Regions from separate parts of the Homo sapiens genome. Here all the other regions are linked to region 1. Evidence: promoter capture Hi-C in 16 types of primary human blood cells and fetal thymus (Javierre and others, 2016). All regions are on one chromosome and are shown on one strand. The core of a region is centred on a gene start or on the middle of the fragment in contact, and the rest is flanking DNA. Distances in the headings are between cores, read along the strand shown.

Region 1 (2,688 bases), core at 152-2,651:
TTGCTAATGTGTATGTCAGCAACACATTCAGTATCCAGAATGGCTTGAAGTTATGCCTTCAGGGCCAAAAATAACATAATGTTAAATTCTGTAGATTCAATAACAGAATTTATTAAGAAATCTGCACTGTGAGGTAAATGATTAAACACTGACTCTTTCTCAACATTAGATAATTCTTTTTATTCATCAGAGAAATGTGATTTATGACACATTTAAAAGCATGTTTAAGGCCGGGCATGGTGGTGTATACCTGTAGTCTCAATTACGTGGGAGGCTAGGGTGGGAGGATTGCTTGAGCCTAGTAGTTCTAGGCTTCAGTGCGCCATGATCACACCTGTGAATAGCCACTGCACTCCAGCCTGGGCAACATAGCAAGATCCCATCTCTAAAAAGAAATTTTGTTTTAAAGCATGTTTAAAACATACATACACCAGCCTGGCCAACATAGTGAAACCCTGCCTCTACCAAAAATACAAAAATTAGCTGGGCGTGGTGGCACGTGCCTGTAATCTCAGCTACTCGGGAGGCTCAGGCAGGAGAATTCCTTGAACCCGGGAGACAGAGGTTGTGGTGAGCTGAAATTGTGCCACTGTGCTCCAGCCTGAGCAACAGAGGGAGACTCTGTCTCAAAAAACAAACAAACAAACAACAAAAAAACCATACATAGAAATGTTCCAGTAGAATACAAAGAACCACTTTCTAGAACTGAATGCACCAGAGAGGATTAGAAACCCACTTATTCTCTCCCAGCTTCAAGTATTTAACGTTCCTACTTTTGCACGTGGCAGCCTTGCTGACTCAGATCCGAGGGCGTTGAAAGACAGATTCACAATTTCTGGTCCATATTTGATGCAAATATTTAGAACTATCTAGCAGAGCTTGCTGCCTTTCCAACAATCCAGTTAGTGAATTGAGAATGTTCTCATTTAATAGAAATGAAAGGTAAACGAAGGATCCACCTGGCCATGGGACTGGAGGAATGACCCAAGCCATGCTTCATAGAGGCACAGATAGACACCCTCAGGGAAGCCGAGACCCTTTGAAAAAAGGGCCTGGTGTGTGTATTTTCACACTGCCCCCTGCTGGCTGACACTGGAACATTGATTCTTCCTGCTGACACTGGAACATTGATTCTCCTGTGGCTCTAAGACGACCTAACAGGATGAGGCCAGCGGGCCCCCCGCAAGGAAACTTGAGCTAGAGGCAGTTGGATTTGGCTGAGACGCTCTCCTCAGGGAAGGCCAGGTCTGGGAGTGGGTTTGAACAGCAGTGGAGAAATAACTTCCATAGGGCATGTCAGAGTAAGTTCTAGTGTTTCCAAGAGAATGGGACAGGATCTTAGTGGAATTTAGAAGCCAGGCAGGTGGAAAAGCATTGAGGACCCCATCCCAAGGGCTCGAGTCCCTAGAGACAGCCTGGAAAGATTGGGTGCCAGCTGCAGAGAGGAGAGCAAGGCGACCAAACGCAGGGTAAGGTCTGGAGGTGCTCATAGTTCACTACGGGACATGTACATGGAAGTGAATAATTATGTCACAAGGTGCCAAGGGGGCTAGTTACCTCACATAGGATCTTAGAAAAGGTCTCCTGGAGACCATGTCTGAGCTGGTCCTGAGGTGTGAGTAGGGATTCTCCGCAGGGCGGGGAAGGACTTGAAAGAGTCTGGCAATATGGAGCACATCAGGATTATGGAAGGTGAGCTTGGAGAACAAGGCAGAGTCTAGCCTGTGAAAGGCCTCTTGCAATTTGTTGAGGATCCATGACCTTCTCCCATGCATGGTGAAATGCCCTTAAAGGATTTTGAATAGATTTAAAAGACACTCAAAAACAAAAAACGGTAGATTCAAAATAGACGGTAGGGATCGCTTTCTTCCGTTTTCTTTGAAGGATCAGAAGTGTTTACCACCACCTGGATTGTTTTTGGGCTTTCAGGTGAGTGGGAAAACAAAGAAATTCATGCCTGATCATGTTGAGCCACTTATATAATGTTGCTTTGACACTAATGGAGATGTAACTTCTTTTAAGACATAATAGAATCTCCTAAGTGGGTGTGGGAGTCGTAAGAAGGAGGAATCTGGGCTTCTACAAGCAAGATAGCATGTATTCATTTATTCAGTCAGTCAGTCGCTGGATCGATGCGCTTAGCTTTGTGCTCTGTGCTGGGTGCTGTGTGGGATATAAAAGAAGGTGAGGCCGGGTGCGGTGGCTCATGCCTGTAATCCCAGCACTTTGGGAGGCCAAGGCAGGTAAATCATGAGGTCAGGAGATCGAGACCGTCCTGGCCAACATGGTGAAACCCTGTCTCTACTAAAAATACAAAAATTAGCTGGGCGTGGTGGTGTGTGCCTGTAATTCAGCTGCCTGGGAGGCTGAGGCAGGAGAATAGCTTGAACCAGGGAGTCGGAGGTTGCAGTGAGCAGAGATTGCACCACCGCACTCCAGCCTGGCAACAGACGAGACTCCGTCTCAAAAAAAAAAAAAAAAAAAAGAAGCTGAAATTCCAGCTCTTATCCCCCAAGGAATCTGTACATCTGTACTCTGCTTGGGAATCCACAGAAGAAGGAAAGAATGCCAGCAAAGTAAGATCATGCTGCATGACCTCAAGATAGATGTTAAGGACATTTTGATGGGATAAAGGGAATCTTTGCTAGTTCAGAGATGAGCTTTACTGGCTTTGAGCTAAGTGATAGA
Region 2 (2,688 bases), core at 59-2,558, 460 kb after region 1:
TGATTTGATGTTAGACATTTTGAGGATAATATTGGTGAAGAGACAATGGGGACAAGAATTTTGAGACCCCTCAACAGGGAAAGTGACCAGAAATATGTGCTTTCTAATGATGAGGAGAGACAGCAGGTGGCATGTATCACAAGGAAAGAATTTTTTTCAAGGGTGTTATAAAGTGATGGTATAAAACTGATACTTGGAACCCAACACAGCTCTATGTTTGATGAAAAGTGACATTTTATTCAAGGCAAGAAAGTCAAGGGAACTTTCCAGGAAAAACCCAACGCTGTAAGAATATTTGTTTGCCTAGAAACTAGGCTAGAAAAGGCAGAGTGAAAAGGTGAAGATGGCAGTCAGCTAAGGATGGAAGGGTGTGTAGGAGTTGAAGGGAATGGGCAGAGAGACTCTGGAGAGACCTTCTCCTGGAACAGAACTCCTGGTCAGTGGACTGACATACAAAGCAGCAGCTACAAGAAGAATTAACTAATGATCTTTTGCAATTATACTGGGAAAGATGGTCATTTGGTTGCTTAAATAAGTATGATCTCTCATTAAGTGAAAATATTTAAGCTTCTTATTGGAATATAATGAAGGACCTCACATTTGTTAAAATGAAGGAGGGAGGAAGGGAGGAAGTCAAGCATAGTGTTTTCTTTTTCACAGGCCATAAGTGCAAACAAAGAAACCACTACTACTTCTTAAAGGAGGAAGAAGAGGAGGGGGAAGGAGGAGGATTAATATAAAGAAGAAGCAGGGGACCACAACCCCATCAATCCAGCTTCTCAGTAGGTCATAAAAGCCCAAGATCAGCGTGGACCAGAGCAATCAACAAAGACTTCCTGGAGGAAGCAGGATTTGAGCAAGTCCTCCAAGGAAAGGTCAATGGGAAGTGCACATCTCAGGATGACAGCTTGGGCCAAGCTGAGAGGCAGTACCATCCTGATAAGGCTCCTGTAAAAACAGATGGATTTTACCCAGGGGCCTGGGGAGATGTTCTCTGGCAAGCAGCTTGTTACATCCACAAGCAAAGAGAGCTGGATCCCAGGAAGAGGGAGATGGGACAGGGAGCTCCCCTGGGGATAAGGCAGATGGAAACAGTGGGCCAGAGCAAGGGAGCCTGGGGCCAAGGATGAGCAGGAGATGTGCCTGGGGCCAATGGAGCTGGTAGAAAGGCCAGCCCACTAGAGCAGGGAGCCCAGAAGGGGGACTGGAGATGAAATGTGCCCACCTCACAGCTATGCCTGACACTAGCCCTAGGAGATGACGAGGTAAGGTGCCCTGCAGACCTTTTCACATGTGGTGCTCTGCAAGCCCTAATGCCAGCTCACACATCTCATCAGGGTCTTGGTGGCAGGCTGGTGTCCAGTGCCTGCTGCTTGCTTTCCTCTTCAGAACCTGATTCCCTGAACCCTGCTGACCCTACCCAAGCTAACATTCTGAAGAGTCTCTGCCCCAGCCTCCTGCCCTGCAGGCCCCACTAGATATCCTCTCTCTCACTCTCTCCCAGTGTGGAAAGAGCCCTGGATGAGGAGTCTAGTTCTGATCAGGGCCAGGAAAAGCCAGCACCCATCTCTGGTCCTCTCTGTCCCCCACAGGCACAATGGGCGCCGTAATACCAATTCTGTCTATGTCGCAGAGCGCTTTAGGATGGAACGAGGTAAATGTGCAGGAAAGCACTTTGGAAACTTTCAAATGTTTTGAAGGTTTATTATGATTATTATTCATGTCTGATTTCGCCGCCTCTGTGGAGCCCCAGCTCGAGTTTGTGCCTACGCGATGCCAAAACAACCAGTCAAATCCATCAAAAAGTCACTCAATTGAGTGGGAAAAAATGCAGACAGCTCTGTTGTGTATTATCAAAAAAATTAAGCTGCAGGCAGATCACTAGTGTTTTTGAGAACGTGCAGTGGGTTGTTCTAGGCACTGTTTTGAGTTTTTCTATCTAAGGCTTTCACCTCCCATGAACCAATTTTTTTAAAAAGATGACAATAGAAAAATCAAGGCCCTCAGTTGTTTCCCAGGAGTGAATATGGCTTCAAGATGTCAAGCTTAAGAGAGAAGAAGACAGATATTCTTGCAGAGGAGGGCCTGTCTCTCTCTTGACCCCTCACTCACAGCAGGTCTCAGGCCAGTGGGCTATCTTTCGTTGGGAAGGTCAGCTAAGAAGCAATTTTGAAAGCTCCCCACATGGGTTGGCATGGGGGCGGTGGGCAGTGGGGTGGGAATGAAATACCTGAACAGCCTGCCAAACCCACAAAGGCTTCAGGAGCCCTGGCCTTGACTGCAAGGGGCAAGCACCCAGGAGCTGAGGACCAGTGGTATGAGGGGTTGGCAACAGGGGATAGAGAAGATTTTGAGATAAGAATATGTTTTTAAAACATAAATGTCCCAAGAGGGTTGCTCCAGAGTGGCAGAGGAGAAACTCAAGCCAGTTGATTTTCCTCCATGTGAGCAGTTCCACTGAACATTTTGCTGGGGGGAAAGATGGAATCTAATTTTTAAGAAGAGGTTTGGCTATCATTCATGACTTTTATTTATGCAGGCCTCCTTGACACATTATTCTCATCAGGAGGTATCTGGCTCAAAAATGAAATTGCTGGATGGAAATGGGAATATATATGAGTGAAAACTCATGTTGCATCCTAAATTTAATTCTCTAGGTTAACAAGTCCTTCCTGAGCATCTGTGTGT
Region 3 (2,688 bases), core at 72-2,571, 300 kb before region 1:
TGTATTGCTTTTGTGTCCTGCTGCTTTGCCAAATTTGTTTAGTAGTTCCAAAGGGTTTTTTGTGGAATCTTTAGGGTTTTCTAAGATCATATAATCTATGAATAATAATTTTCCTTCTTCCTTTCCAATTTGGATGCATTTTCTTTCTTTCTTCTTTTCTTTCTATTCCCTCCTTTTCCTTTTCTTTTTTCTTTTCTTTCCTTTTCTTCCTTTTTGCCTAATTGCTCTATCTAGAAATTCCAAGACTACGTGGTATGGAAGTGGTGAAAGTGGGCATTCTTGTCTTGTTCCTGATCTTCGAGGAAAAAGTTTGTCTTGCATCATTGAGTATGATTTAACTATGGGGTTTTCATATATGGCTATCATATTGTGGTAGTTTTCTTCTATTTCTAGTTTGCTGCATTTTTTTTTTAATCATGAAAGCGTGTTGAACTTTTTCAAAAGCTTTTTGTGCATTGACTAAGATGATCATGTGGTTTTTGTCTGTCATTCAGTTACTGTTGTGCATTACACTTACCGATTCTGGGATTGATTTTAAAGCATTCATTCCTCCAAACACACTCCCAGGGTTAGGTCTCTTACCTCTGCATGTATTTAGGAAAAAGACATAATATGACCAACTTCCCAACTATTAAACCATGTTTAGGATAAACTGTATTTTGTTATGGTGCCTTATTTATTTATTTATGAGACGGAGTCTTGCTGTGTCACCCAGGCTGGAGTGCAGTGGCGTGATCTCGGCTCACTGCGACCTCCGCCTCCCAGGTTCAAGTGATCCTCCTGCCTCAGCCTCCTGAGTAGCTGGGATTACAGGCACGCACCACCACATCTGGCTAATTTTTATATTTTTAGTAGAGACAGGGTTTCACCGTGTTGGCCAGGCTCGTCTCGAACTCCTGACCTCAGGTGATCTGCCCCACCTTGGCCTCCCAAAGTGCTGGGATTTACAGGCGTGAGCCACCGACCCTGGCCTGGCGCCTTCTTTTAAATAAGTTTTTTTTTTTTTTTTGAGATGAAGTCTTGCTCTGTCGCCCAAGCTGGAATACAGTGGTGTGATCTCGTAACCTCTGCCTCCCGGGTTCAAGCAATTCTCTGTCTCAGCCTCCTGAGTAGCTGGGATTACAGGTGTCCGCCACCATGCCCGGCTAATTTTTGTATTTTTAGTAGAGATGGGGTTTTGCCATCTTGGCCAGGCTTGTCTTGAACCCCTAACCTCGTGATCCACCCGCCTCGGCCTCCCAAAGTGCTGGGATTACAGGCATGAGCCACCGCGTCTGGCCCTTTTAAATAGTTTTATACTGCATACTATATTCAGTCTTTAGTGGTAGATGAATTCTTACTCTGTTGTTGCGTGCCCTGGAGAGCATAGTTCCTTGGAGACACCAAAGGAAGATTTTTCCAGGAAGGTCTTTTGGGAAGGGGCCTCCTCCAAGAAGGGAGTGAGGAAGGAGGTAGATTGAGTCAATGCACTTTTCCTCTATCTGGTCAGAGTTCTTGAAGGTATTTTTCTTCTGAACTTGGGTGGGGTTTGCAGTGGGGTAGGGGAAAAGAGAAATGATTCTGACACATACAAGAAAATGCTCCTTTGTGGGGCACGGGGGCAGGAGTTGCTTCCAAAAGGACCCAACAAAGACCTGTAGGGAACGTTTAAATTTATCTGTGTGTGGCCGGGCATGGTGGCTCATGCCTGTAATCCCAGCACTTTGGGAGGCCAAAGTAGGTGGATCACCTGAGGTCGGGATTTTGAGAGCAACCTGGACAACATGGTGAAACATGGTGAAACCCCGTCTCTACTAAAAATACAAAGTTAGCCCGGCATGGTGGCGCGTACCTGTAATCCCAGCTATTCGGCAGGCTGTGGAAGAAGAATCTCTTGAACCTGGGAGGCGGAGACTGCAGTGAGCCAAAATTGCGCCATTGCACTTCAGCCTGGATGACAAGAGCGCAACTCTGTCTCAAAAAATAAATAAATAAATATCTGTGTGAACTAGCACTTGAGAGACTGCAGCCTCAGGCAGTTTTCAGCCCTGTGCACACAATGAAATTACCTAAGGGGCTTAAAAAAAAATACGGAAGCCTGGGTCCCACCCCAGAGGCTCTGAGGGAAGTAACCTGCAGTGCAGTTTTTAACCATCCACAGGTGTTCGTCATGCAGCGCCAAGGTTGGGTAATGAAGAGCTGACATTGATTGAAGCTTACTCTGTGCCAAGCTCCATTCTACAAGTTTTACTTCACAATAACCTTACAAGACAGGTCTACTGTTATCCTTCATAGAGGGCCATTGAGGCACAAAGAGGTTAAGTGCTGGCCAAGGACACCCAGTTCATAAGGGGTATTCTCTCCACTTGAACTTCAGAGCCCATGCCCCTTACCACAGTGCTGTGCCAGCAAGGGTTGCATGCCAGGCCCTGCCATGATCCTGCCCCAGTTTCCCCTGGGGAAGAGAAATGAGCCAAAACCTAAAGGGCAGGAGTAGCTGGCCATGGTGGCTCATGCCTGTAACCCCAGCACTGTGAGAGACCGAGGCAGGAATATCACTTGAGCCCAGGAGTTCAAGACCAGCCTGGGCAACATAGCAAGACTCTATCTCTACAAAATAACTGTTTTTAATTAGCCAGGTGTGGCAGAGTGCGCCTGTAGTCCTAGCTACTCAGGAGGCTGAGGTGGGAGGATCGCTTGAGCCCAGGA
Region 4 (2,688 bases), core at 132-2,631, 480 kb after region 1:
ATTCTGCCTCAAAACTGGAACGGAAATTCTGCCTGAGTTTCCAGCCTGCAGCCTGCCCTACAGATTTCAGACTTGGCAGCCCCCACAATTGAGTGAGTCAATTCCTTAAAATACAGAAAAATAAAGAAAAAAATATTTTATAAATATATATATATATATATATATATATATATATATATATATATATATATATACAGAGAAACAGACCCAGACCCAACAGGTATATATATATATACACACACACATATATATCCTGTTGGTTCTGTTCCGCCAGGAGAGGGACAATGGGAGAATCCAACTGTTACAGCCCTGCAGATCAAAGAGCTATAGATGGCTCACTTCCAAACTGGTCACCTGTACTAATGAGGATATATTTAGATATCATGAACAGAAGGGACACTGGAAAAATCATCCCATTTGAAAAAAAAAAAAGTATCTCAATTTAGATGAATGAGGGTTCTCTAAGGAAAGAAAAAGTACTCAATAGCCTGCCTTACCCTTAAACATCTAAGGCAAATTAACTATTATAAATATAGATGGTCAACCTCATTGACTCCTGGTAGATATGGGTGCTACTCTTTCTGCAATGAATGCTGCCACCTTCGTTCAACCTCTTCCTTAAACACACCACACCGGTGGCAGATATGTCAAACAGCCCACAAAATTTCCCTATGTCTTAGCCCTTAAATGTAACCCTTGGGCCCTTCTTAAATGATGGCCCTGAATTAATGACTGCCAAGTGGGGGTGGAAATCTCTTAATTTCTTAATCTCTTAATTTAAGACATCTCTTAAATCTCTTAATTAAGAGATTAAGAAATCTCTTAATTTCTTGGTTCCCATATCCAGGTTGCTGAATCTTGTTAGAAAGCATCACAATTTCCTGGTCTCCAACCTCTCAGCTGGACTTTTGAAACTGTTTAGCAATCATATTTGCCCCTGGACAATCTTACTGGCCCCTTTCTCATTTCCCACAATGGTTATTACAAAATCTTATTATTCTTTTTAATTCCCATAACTCCCCAACACCCACATCAGGCAGGACCCTTCTGGATTTCTGAACCCAACAACCTACAAACATCTTCATCTTCCTACCCTCTGTTCTAGTTTTCTCTCTGAAGCAAACTGCTGCAACTGGGCTTAGAATACCACGCCCTGCTACCTATCGAACATCTTACTCCATCCCTCTGCACCTCCTCCTGAACCTTCAACTTCTACCTCCTTATTGAATCTTTTCTCAAAGCTTATAAACACACTCAAACCTCTTCCATCAGAAAGAGTCCACTCCCATTTGTTCTTTCATCTCTTTTTGCATCCGCAACAACTTCCTGCCTCTACTTTCTCACTCCCATTCCCTCCTTGGCCTTCTGTGCTGTACTGGAGGACATCTGAGTTATTTCCAGGTTAAGTATTATGGCCGAAGCTGCTATGAATATTTTTATACATGTCTATGGGGGGGACATAAGCTGAATGTCCCCCCCATAGACATTTCTAGATCACAGGCTATATGTATATTAAGCTTTAGTAACTGCTGCCTTGCAAATTTAAAGGCAGTAAATAATTTCCTCAACTGTCAGTGTCAAAAAGCCTGAAATTTAAAAAACTCATTTTGCCTTGTATCAATCAGCTTTTGCTACATAACAAACTCCGTTGATATCTCAGTGACATGCAGCTAGAAACATTTATTTCTCGTTCATATGTCTGCAGATTGCTTGGCATAGCTTCACTGCAGATGTCTCATTTTGGTGTCTGACATGAAGATGCAATGGCAACCTGAAATATGGTATTTTTGTGGTGATGGCAGAAGCACAAGAACACGAACCCAATCACACAAGCAAATTCAAGCTCCTGCTTTTGTCACATCTGCCAACATCCCCTTGGCCAAAGCAAGTCATATGGCCAAGCTCAATGTCAAGGGGCAAAGACAATTATTGTTCCCACCATGAGGCTATGGAAGGGGTATGGATGTATAATATTACTACAGAGGAGTGAAATGTGGTCACCAATTATGCCGTCTTCATGCACTTATAGACCAATCTTTGCCTCCGCCACAGTTGCTTTGGGGAAAAAAATCCACCTACATAGTATGCGGCAGCATCTTCCTTGAGGTGAAAATCCAGTGTGCTAGGCTCCAAACTCTCTGCTAAATCCCAAGCCTGATGAGACATGAGCCTATTAACTGAGCCCCATGCTTAAGCAGATTTATTCACCCACTACCAGGCAACGCTATTCCTACACAGGTCCATCTACATGGAGGTAGGGACCACCCCTAAGGAAGGGATTCCTAGGTAGGGCTCATGGCATACATTGGAGATAAGTTCTATTCCATGGGCCAGTCACCCCCACGCTGACAGCAGGGGCACGTACTCCTCTGATCCAGCTCCGTGTTCGTGCCTCTCAAAGCGTTCCTCCTAGGAGAAAGGGCCCCACCCCTGCCCTAGACAGACTATGCTCCTTGGGATGAATGAAAGCCCTCTCCAATCATCTCTTGCAGAAGGGCTGACACCTTGGGACACAGACATATACTGTAACCCTCAGTGACACTCAGAGGTGCACAGTCCTTCAGGCATTCATTTGCTTACTCATTTGTTGATGCATGTTTTCATCCACTAACTCAACATTCACTGAACCACTTCAAGAAGCGAGCACTGCGCTGGCTGCTGAGCATAAAAAGACAAATATGTTACAGT
Region 5 (2,688 bases), core at 7-2,506, 470 kb before region 1:
AGTTAGAACCTTCAGTACAATGTTGAATAGAAGCAGTGAAAGTAGACATCCTTCTCTTGTTCCTAGTCTTAGAGCAAAAGCAGTCAGTCACCATTAAGTATGACATTTGCTGTGGCTTTTATATAAATATCCTTTATGAGGTTGAGGAAGTTCCCTTCTCTTTCCAGCGTGTTGAGTGTTCTTATCATTAAAGAGTACTGGATGTTGTCAAATGGTTTCCTGAATTTATTGAGAAATAAATGTCTTCTCAGGGGAAAACAGAATTTTAATCAGTGCGTCCTAGTAGATGCAATAATTGTGGCATGGACAGGTTTGTATCCTGTGCCTTGGGTCGCTCCAGAAACACAGCCATTGGGTTTTCTCTATTGGGGACCAGCCAGCTACGGCCCTAAACATTCTTGGAGTGGCTTGCCATCAAGGGGGTGCTGCTCTGGAGCACAAGGCAAGTAGCCACCATCAATCCTTCTGAAATACATAGCTTAAAAAAATCACACTCTGACTTTAAATTTGGCATCAGCACTCAGCCACATTATAATCACACCAGCCAGATTTTTAATTAAGGCCTCAGGCTCCAAATAATTTGGGTGACACATTGATAACAAAATAAGAAAGAGTTATTGCCAAATGACATTTGATTGATGGGCTTGGACCTGTAAAGAGGATTGTCTTGAGACCCTTAACAATATAGTTGACCAAGTTGCTAAATCTTTATAAGCCTCAATAGCATAACCTATTAAATACGTAGAATAATATTTAGCTCATAAGGATGCTATGACGATGAAATGAAATGGTGCAAATAAAGAGACAGTCACAATACTTGGTCCAGGACAAGCTTTGATAAGTGTCATTAATAATTAACTATGAATAAGCCTTCCCACATAGTATTTCAATGATCCATTTTAAATGTCTCTCTTAATAACAACGGCAAGGCATTATTTGTTTTTGTACCTTATTTTTATGAATAAATGAAAGAACAATCCCAGCTAGTAAAGAAAGGAAAAGGAAGGGAGAGGAGGGGTGAGGAGGAGCACTTCTGAGCTCAGTGAATGACTAGGCTGAAGCTCCGTACTATGACTTTTCCATTTCCCTAAAAGCCTTCTGGTTATGTTCTCAGAAGCCACCACCTCTCTCCTCTCCAAAGGACCCCAACAGAATCTTAATCATCACGGATTGGCAACTTCACAACCTTAGCACGCTGACAAACAAAAATCAGCTGTCAATGACACAGAAGAGGCCTGTTTGTCCCCCTCCCACCCTGTTCTCATTCTTCAACCACCAAACCACCTCTCTAAACAGAGGCCGATCTAGGCCAGGCAAGGGAGAAAGATCAGCTATTTGTTGGGGAGCCCTGCTCTCTGGGAACTCAGCGAATTAACAGCAGGATGCCTGAGGGGTAGGTAGTCTACCACCTAGGGAGAGCAGAACAGGGAGGACAGCCAGCTTTTAAAACTCTGCTCTTAACAAAAAAAGAAAGAAAAAGAAAACAATCGGCTTTATTATGAACTTCATAAGGACAAGAACCAGGTTTTGCAATCACTCAAGGTATCTAATACAGTGGCCCTTTAGTCTAATTTATCAATTTTTTTCTTTTATAGTGAGCCTTTTTGTGTCGTGTTTAAGAAATCTTTGCCTACTCTGAGGTCATGAAGGTGGTCTCCTATGTTTTCTTCAAAAGCTTTATTGCTTTACCTTTCACATTTAGATGGATTTAAAAATCCATCTGGATTTTTGTTGTTGTTGTTGTTATGATGTGAGGTAATTTTTCACATGAATATACAATTGATCCAGCACATTTATTGAAATGACTGGTTGGGCACACTGACTCATGCCTGTAATCCCAGCATTTTGGGAGGCCAAGGCAGGAGGACTGCTTGAGGCCAGGAATCTGAGACTAGCCTGGCCAACATAGCAAGATCCTATCTCTATATATTAAAATAACATTTTTTAGAAACCAGATATTTAACACCAATGGTACAGTTTATTTAGAAAAGGCAGGAAACATGCTTCTTTCCTTTCATTAACTAGTTTTATAAATAGAGTTGGTTTGCCCACATCCTCCAATACTGATAACATGAATTTAGGTATTATTATGAATTCATGTACTTAAATATAATCAATGTGTTTCCATCAACTGCAGTTATTACCCTTACTGATGTTCAAAATGTCCCATGTTTAGGAGCCTCTTCTTGCTGGCTCTGCCTCATTTTGACATGACCCTACTGTTTGCTTTTTATGGCTTCCTTGCTTTCCGGTATGTTTGCAGCAATAAATAATGGACAGATAGAAAGTCTTTGGTCAGATAACAATCCCTCAAGGTTGACTGATGGCTCTGTAGAGTTCAGTGTGAGCAGCTACTTGTGCAACAGCTATGTTCAGGGGCAGGGAGACCCAAACCCAAGAGTAACTCCCCCACCCAGAATGGGGCCACCTCGGGGGTGACATGAAAAAGCCAAGCGACCGGGCACGCTGGCTCATGCCTGTAATCCTAATATGTTGGGAAGCCGAGATGGGCAGATCACTTGAGGTCGGGGGTTCAAGACTGGCCTAGCCGACACGGCAAAACCCTGTCTCTACTAAAAATACGAAAATTAGCTGGGTGTGGTGGCAGTGCCTATAATCCCAACTACTCGTGAGGTTGAGGCACCGCTTGAATCCAGGAGGAGGAGGTTGCAGTGAGCCAAGGTAGTG
Region 6 (2,688 bases), core at 165-2,664, 390 kb before region 1:
GTTTAAAAAAAACCCATGATCTCATTATCTTTCACCAAAAACATTCCTCCTAGTGTAACTGCTCTGTTGACATCCTGTCACCAAATCTTGTGCTTTCTTCCTTCTGGGTGTCTCCCTAATGTCCGTTGCGTCCAGTCATCAAAAAGTTACAGGCTGCATTAGGGGAAGCCGTGAGCCTGGTGTAAGGCAACAGGGATTGGTGGGAACCGATGATCCTCAGCTCCAGCCAACCATTGAGCAGGTGACAAAGTGATGGTGGACCCTCCAATTATCTAAGACAGGCAAGAAATTTAGATTGTTAGGAGAAACTTTCTGATTTTTAAGGCAATATGTGGGCCAAAGAAAACATCTACAGGTCACTCATGGGCAATCCCGAGTGAACCAGGCTCCCTCAGTCTGGTCCAGGCTCCCTCAGTCCCTTCTACACATCACTGTCTGATCAGTTTCCCAAACACAGGGCTCCTGATCACTGCTATCTCGGAAAGCACAACTACTGCTACAAAGTCCTATACTGCCATTCAACCTCCACAGTAATAAAACCAATCCCTACCTTCCTTAACTCCCCTACACAGATCTTTCACTTCACCCAAAGGAGTCCACTCCCCCACCCGTCACCCCCGCCACTGTCCCCGCCAAGATGGCCTCCTTCCTACTCTCCTCCCCTACCCACCAGAGCCCACACGGTGCAGGAAACAACCCATCAACCGGGAGGACGCCCTCCAACACCTGCTGATGACGGACTGGCTCACTGGGTAACACCCCTTTGCTCAAAGCCGATGATTTCATGCCCAAGAAGGGATTTACATCTCCCAGGAGGCAAATGCTATGGCCTTGTCCTGATTCCCCCACCCCCCAAAATAATAACATTGTAAAAGGGAACGGAGAGCCTAAGTTGCGCTCAGAGGAGCCGCCTCCCTAAGAAGGCTCTGCATATCTTCACCTCCAGGAAGGCCTCACGGAGTTGGGGGAGAGGGGAGTCCCCGCAGCCAGCCCAGCGAGGCAGGAGGCCGTGCGCCACTCCCGAGAAGCTCCTTCCTGCGCCCCGGGGGAGCCACTTCAGTCAGACCCTGAGCCGGGACCCCGACCCGCCGACCCCTGACGCGCGCGCCGCGAAGGCCGGGCACCCGAGGGCCCTTCGCGCTACCCGGGCCCGGGGCCGCCGTCGGCTGCGACAAAGGGTCAGAGAACAAGACGACCCCTCTGCGCGCGTCCCCCGCAGGCCTCCCGGATGCGCCGCTGTCCCGGCCGCGCCCACCCCGACGCTGCCGCTACCTTGTCCTCGGGTGGCGCAACCGGCTCATGGGCCACCCTCTGCCTCAGCTCTGTCATCCTGGGAAAATCGGCCCGACGTCGCCGCGAGCTAGCAGCGAAGCCGCCGGAGCAGGCAGCTCGGCGCGGGCACGCGCGGACTCCCACGGCCGGCCCCGCCCCGCCCGGGAGGCGCGCGGCTCTGAGCGGCTCACAGTTCCCTTAGCAGCCCAGCAGCCAGCCCTGGAGCTCGGCCCCACCCAGTGCCGTCACCGCCCTTTCACCCGGGCCGAGCGGGGTCAGCCTTCCCTAGCCCCGACCCGAGAGCTCCCTCTCCCGGGAGCAGGGCTCGGAGCGAGTGCGCACGCGCAGCGCCACCATCACGGTCCGGAATATCCACCAATGGCGCAAATACGCCAGGGAGGCAGGGCGACGGGGGCGGGGCGGGGCGGAGCAGAGTCGAGAGGCGCGCATTGGACGGCAGCGTCAGGGGCGGGAAAAGGCGTGCGTTTCAGTGTGCGATTAGCCAATGGGAGCTCCCGCTTAACCGCGGATGGCCGGAGCTGGCGCCCTGGTTCTGGAGGTAACCGGTTACTGAGGGCGAGAAGCGCCACCCGGAGGCTCTAGCCTGACAAATGCTTGCTGACCTGGGCCAGAGCTCTTCCCTTACGCAAGTAAGTAGACGTTATTTAGGTCGAATGGAAAGGCCAGGTGAGCCGACCTGGTTAAGAGCATTTTATCACTTATCACATGATGAGAAATGAAACCCACGCTTCAGTCTGCTTTGCTTTGCCAAGCGGTCGCTAGTACTTGTTAAGCACTAATTGTATACTAGGCACTGAGCTGAGTAATCGCTTTAGTTGGCTTATCTCGTTTAATCCACACATGGCTTGGAAGTGGGTATGATTTGAATTTTACAGTTAAGATCTTCCTCAGTGGTTTGTTTGTTTGTTCGTTTGTTTGTTTGTTTTGTGACGGAGTCTCGCTCTGTCGCCCAGGCTGGAGTGCAGTGGCATGATCTCGACTCACTGCAACCTCTGCCTCCCGGGCGCAAACAATTCCAAGGTGCGCGCCACCACGCCCGGCTAACTTTTGTATTTTTAGTAGAGACGGGGTTTCACCATATTGGTCAGGCTGGTCTCGAACTCCTGACCTCAGGTGATCCGTCCGCCTCCGCCTTCCAAAGTGCTGGGATTACAGGCGTGAGCCACCGAGCCTGGCCCTTCCTCAGTTTTTCAAATTTGTCTTCTGGACTATGGAAAGACCTTTTTTGGGACAGAAGTGCTGTCTACTTTGTTTACTGTGCATCCTCTATGTCTTTGACACATCCATTGTAAGTACTTGTTGGATGGATTTAAAACTTTTAAAAGGACCTTAGCCAAGGTCTCCCAGCTAGAAAGTGCCTAGTAAGAATTAGAACACAAACAGGTTTGTTACCAG
Region 7 (2,688 bases), core at 145-2,644, 440 kb before region 1:
CTGCAGAGGATTCTGATGTGGCTCAAGGTGAGGGCCACTGGCTTAGAGGGGGGTATCTGTACACGAGAAACACTCACAAAATAAAAGGGAAAATCCAACTCCCAATTCTCACCAGATCATTCCTTCAAATAGGTTGTGGATAACAAGATGTGACTGTGTTACAACAATCAGCAATGTCACATGGGTCCAGCCAAACTGCAAAAAAAAGAAAAATAAACACTACTTACCAGTTTACCTTGAAAGTAACTTCAAAGAACAATCAATACCAAATAGAAAACTGCTGAGAAGCAGGTAGGAAAAATATCTGCTTTTGTATCTGACTTATTGAAAGTGAACAGGTAAGATCAGGCTTCTGAGAGTAATACTTTGTCCCCCACAGCCCACTAGTGAGTGAGCTCTCCCATGCTCTGAAAGCCTGGGTATTTTTCATTTTCTTAGTAGTTATTGAGCACCTGGAGCACTCAGAGAGGAGCTGTTCTCTAGTGAGTCAGGGAATAAGTGGTAGCAAGTGATGTACCAGACAGGACATCTGTGGGCAGTGTCTGAAGCTTCAGCTTGTGCCTTCTCTGGAGCCCACCTCAGGGTCCTAGTGGAGAGGCTGCTTAAGGTGTAAGTAACAGTGACTGGGTCTAAGTCAACGTAGAGCCATTAAACCTAAATGGGCATTCTTCCTTCATGCTCTAGATGCATACATATCAGACCATGTTCCTGAGTTTTGATTTGTCACAGAAAGCATGAAAGGCTTGTTGAGTTCCTGAAAAACTTCATTTAAATCAAGAATTCTGACACACACGCATGCATTTCCTTTACCATGTAGAACTGCAGTCGATAATGCTTCTTGACCAGACTCAGTACAAACATGCAGAATCCTAGTTTGAGGTGGGAGGAGAAAAGAAAAATGAATTATGTTCTGCATTTATCTTTGCCCTCCTTTAGCTATGTTAAGTGGTTCTTTGGCTAATTTATTCCCAGCAGCTAACCAGTGCACAATGTCAAAGCCCAGGGGAGAAAAACATTACCCAGATAAACAGTCACAAGGAAAAAATAACTCCTCCCAAACAGTAAAAGGAAGGCAATATTTTATAATCATGCAGACCACACTAAACTTAGAACATGGTTCATCAGATAGGAATGTTTTATTCCTAGAACATGGGCCAGCAAACAGTGGTCAGGCCAGCTGCTTGTTTTTATAAATAAAGTTTTATTCAAACACAGTTATGTCCATTTGTTTACATATTGTCTATGGCTGCTTTCAAGCTACAACTCAGCAGAACTGAGTACAGTCATGCTCTGAACAACGAGGTTCTCGTCAACAACACACCACATACACAACAACAGTTCCCTAAGGTTATAATACCCATAGATTATAATACCATAAGATTTACTAATTACCATATAGTACCTTTTCTATGTTTAGATACACAAATACTTACCATTGTGTTATAATTGCCTACAGTATTTATTTAGTAAGGTAACATGCTGTACAGGTTTGTACTCTAAGAGAAATAGACTACACATTATAGCCTAGGTGTGTAGGAGGCTATACCATCTAGGTCTGCATAAGTACACTCTACAATGTTTGCACAATGACAAAATGACAACAATGCATTTCCGAGAACATAGCCCATGGTTAAACGATGCATGACTGTAACTGCAAGAGACCCTATGGTCCCCAAAGCCTAAAATATTTACTGTTTGGAACTTTAATAAAAAGTTTGCTGCCTGTTGTGCCTACAGAGTAGCAATTCTTTTATTCCTTTACTTTCTTAATAGACTTGCTTTCACTTTCCTCCACAGACTCGCCCCAAACTCCTTCTTGTATGAGATCCAATAACACTCTCTTGGGGTCCGGGTCTGGACCCCTTTCTGGTAACATCTTTCTGGTGAACCCCAAAGGGACAATACTGAGGAGACCCCCAACCCAAAGGAAATAGACTGCAGCACTGATTGGCTGACTTTGGTTTTTTTCTGCAATTTAGACTGCTTGTTCCTGTGAACCAACCAGTGATCTCTGGCTGCAGCTCAGAAGAAACAAGAGGGATTGGTGATGTAAAAATCTGAATCAGTATTCTAATTCTGGGAACATATTGCAATCAGCTACCGACCCCGTATCAGCTTGGTTCCAACAATTACCCAGTTCATGGAAAGCCTTCTTTAGTTTACTTGGGATAGTTTTGCTTATTTTGCTTTACTGATATGGAATAGTTGTACTATTTGTGTAGGAATGCAGGATAAGCTTACTCAATGTTCTCTTAAACACTTACAAAATCTTCCAGATATCACTTTGTGTCCGAGCTGTGAATAGCCCTAACCATACTGACACTTTCTGACTGAGCTCCTCTCTACCCTGAATACAAGAGACCTCGATAGGTAGGCAGGAATATCATTGCCCCTAATCAGCCTGAAGAAGTTACAGAGGATGGATCTTCGTCCCTCTGCAACCCTTAGGATTAAGGGTTCTCTTATAAAAGTGATGGGGGAAATGTCAGAGGCATTTGAGCTAGAGCAACTCCATCCTGAATAGGAGCTGGGTAAAATGAGGCTGAGATCTACAGGGTCTGCATTCCCAGACGGTTAGGTATTCTAAGTCACAGGATGAGATAGGAGGTCACACAAGATACAGGTCATAAAGACCTTGCTGAGAAAACAACTGCAGTAAAGAAGCTGGCCAAACCCCTCCAAAATCAA

The links. Contacts are between HindIII fragments. The CHiCAGO score rates a contact against its expected background, and 5 or more counts as called.
Region 2: a fragment that was not itself captured here is called in contact with the fragment with the promoter of PRNT in region 1 in 2 of 17 cell types (endothelial precursors and M1 macrophages); the score reaches 5.9 in endothelial precursors.
Region 3: a fragment that was not itself captured here is called in contact with the fragment with the promoter of PRNT in region 1 in 2 of 17 cell types (endothelial precursors and activated CD4 T cells); the score reaches 6.2 in endothelial precursors.
Region 4: a fragment that was not itself captured here is called in contact with the fragment with the promoter of PRNT in region 1 in 4 of 17 cell types (M1 macrophages, M2 macrophages, megakaryocytes and 1 more); the score reaches 10.1 in M1 macrophages.
Region 5: a fragment that was not itself captured here is called in contact with the fragment with the promoter of PRNT in region 1 in 3 of 17 cell types (naive CD4 T cells, activated CD4 T cells and total CD8 T cells); the score reaches 6.2 in naive CD4 T cells.
Region 6: a contact is called between the fragment with the promoter of CDS2 here and the fragment with the promoter of PRNT in region 1, in 1 of 17 cell types (naive CD4 T cells). The highest score is 5.0, in naive CD4 T cells.
Region 7: a fragment that was not itself captured here is called in contact with the fragment with the promoter of PRNT in region 1 in 2 of 17 cell types (naive B cells and activated CD4 T cells); the score reaches 6.7 in naive B cells.

The regions. Positions count from the first base shown.
Region 1 is chr20:4,739,381-4,742,068 of GRCh38, reverse strand. PRNT (prion locus lncRNA, testis expressed) reads left to right here and starts at 1,401. Exons shown (of 2, transcript NR_024269.1): 1 at 1,401-1,469. The HindIII fragment of the contact is 12,166 bases long and covers 1-2,688 here.
Region 2 is chr20:4,276,784-4,279,471 of GRCh38, reverse strand. No RefSeq gene overlaps it. Among named protein-coding and RNA genes, the nearest start is that of ADRA1D, 29 kb to the right of the region's middle. The HindIII fragment of the contact is 1,478 bases long and covers 570-2,047 here.
Region 3 is chr20:5,043,725-5,046,412 of GRCh38, reverse strand. No RefSeq gene overlaps it. Among named protein-coding and RNA genes, the nearest start is that of SLC23A2, 44 kb to the right of the region's middle. RefSeq lists a silencer at 955-1,174. The HindIII fragment of the contact is 1,750 bases long and covers 447-2,196 here.
Region 4 is chr20:4,257,573-4,260,260 of GRCh38, reverse strand. No RefSeq gene overlaps it. Among named protein-coding and RNA genes, the nearest start is that of ADRA1D, 9.6 kb to the right of the region's middle. The HindIII fragment of the contact is 276 bases long and covers 1,244-1,519 here.
Region 5 is chr20:5,206,504-5,209,191 of GRCh38, reverse strand. No RefSeq gene overlaps it. Among named protein-coding and RNA genes, the nearest start is that of CDS2, 81 kb to the right of the region's middle. The HindIII fragment of the contact is 843 bases long and covers 835-1,677 here.
Region 6 is chr20:5,125,734-5,128,421 of GRCh38, reverse strand. It overlaps CDS2 (CDP-diacylglycerol synthase 2), which reads right to left and starts at 1,414. Exons shown (of 13, transcript NM_003818.4): 1 at 1,273-1,414. The coding sequence starts at 1,329. It also overlaps a transcript of PCNA not described here. RefSeq lists enhancers at 576-665, 1,242-1,743 and a silencer at 1,006-1,925. The HindIII fragment of the contact is 13,373 bases long and covers 1-2,688 here.
Region 7 is chr20:5,180,568-5,183,255 of GRCh38, reverse strand. CDS2 (CDP-diacylglycerol synthase 2) reads right to left here. Exons shown (of 13, transcript NM_003818.4): 6 at 811-869; 7 at 113-195. Among named protein-coding and RNA genes, the nearest start is that of CDS2, 55 kb to the right of the region's middle. The HindIII fragment of the contact is 1,688 bases long and covers 551-2,238 here.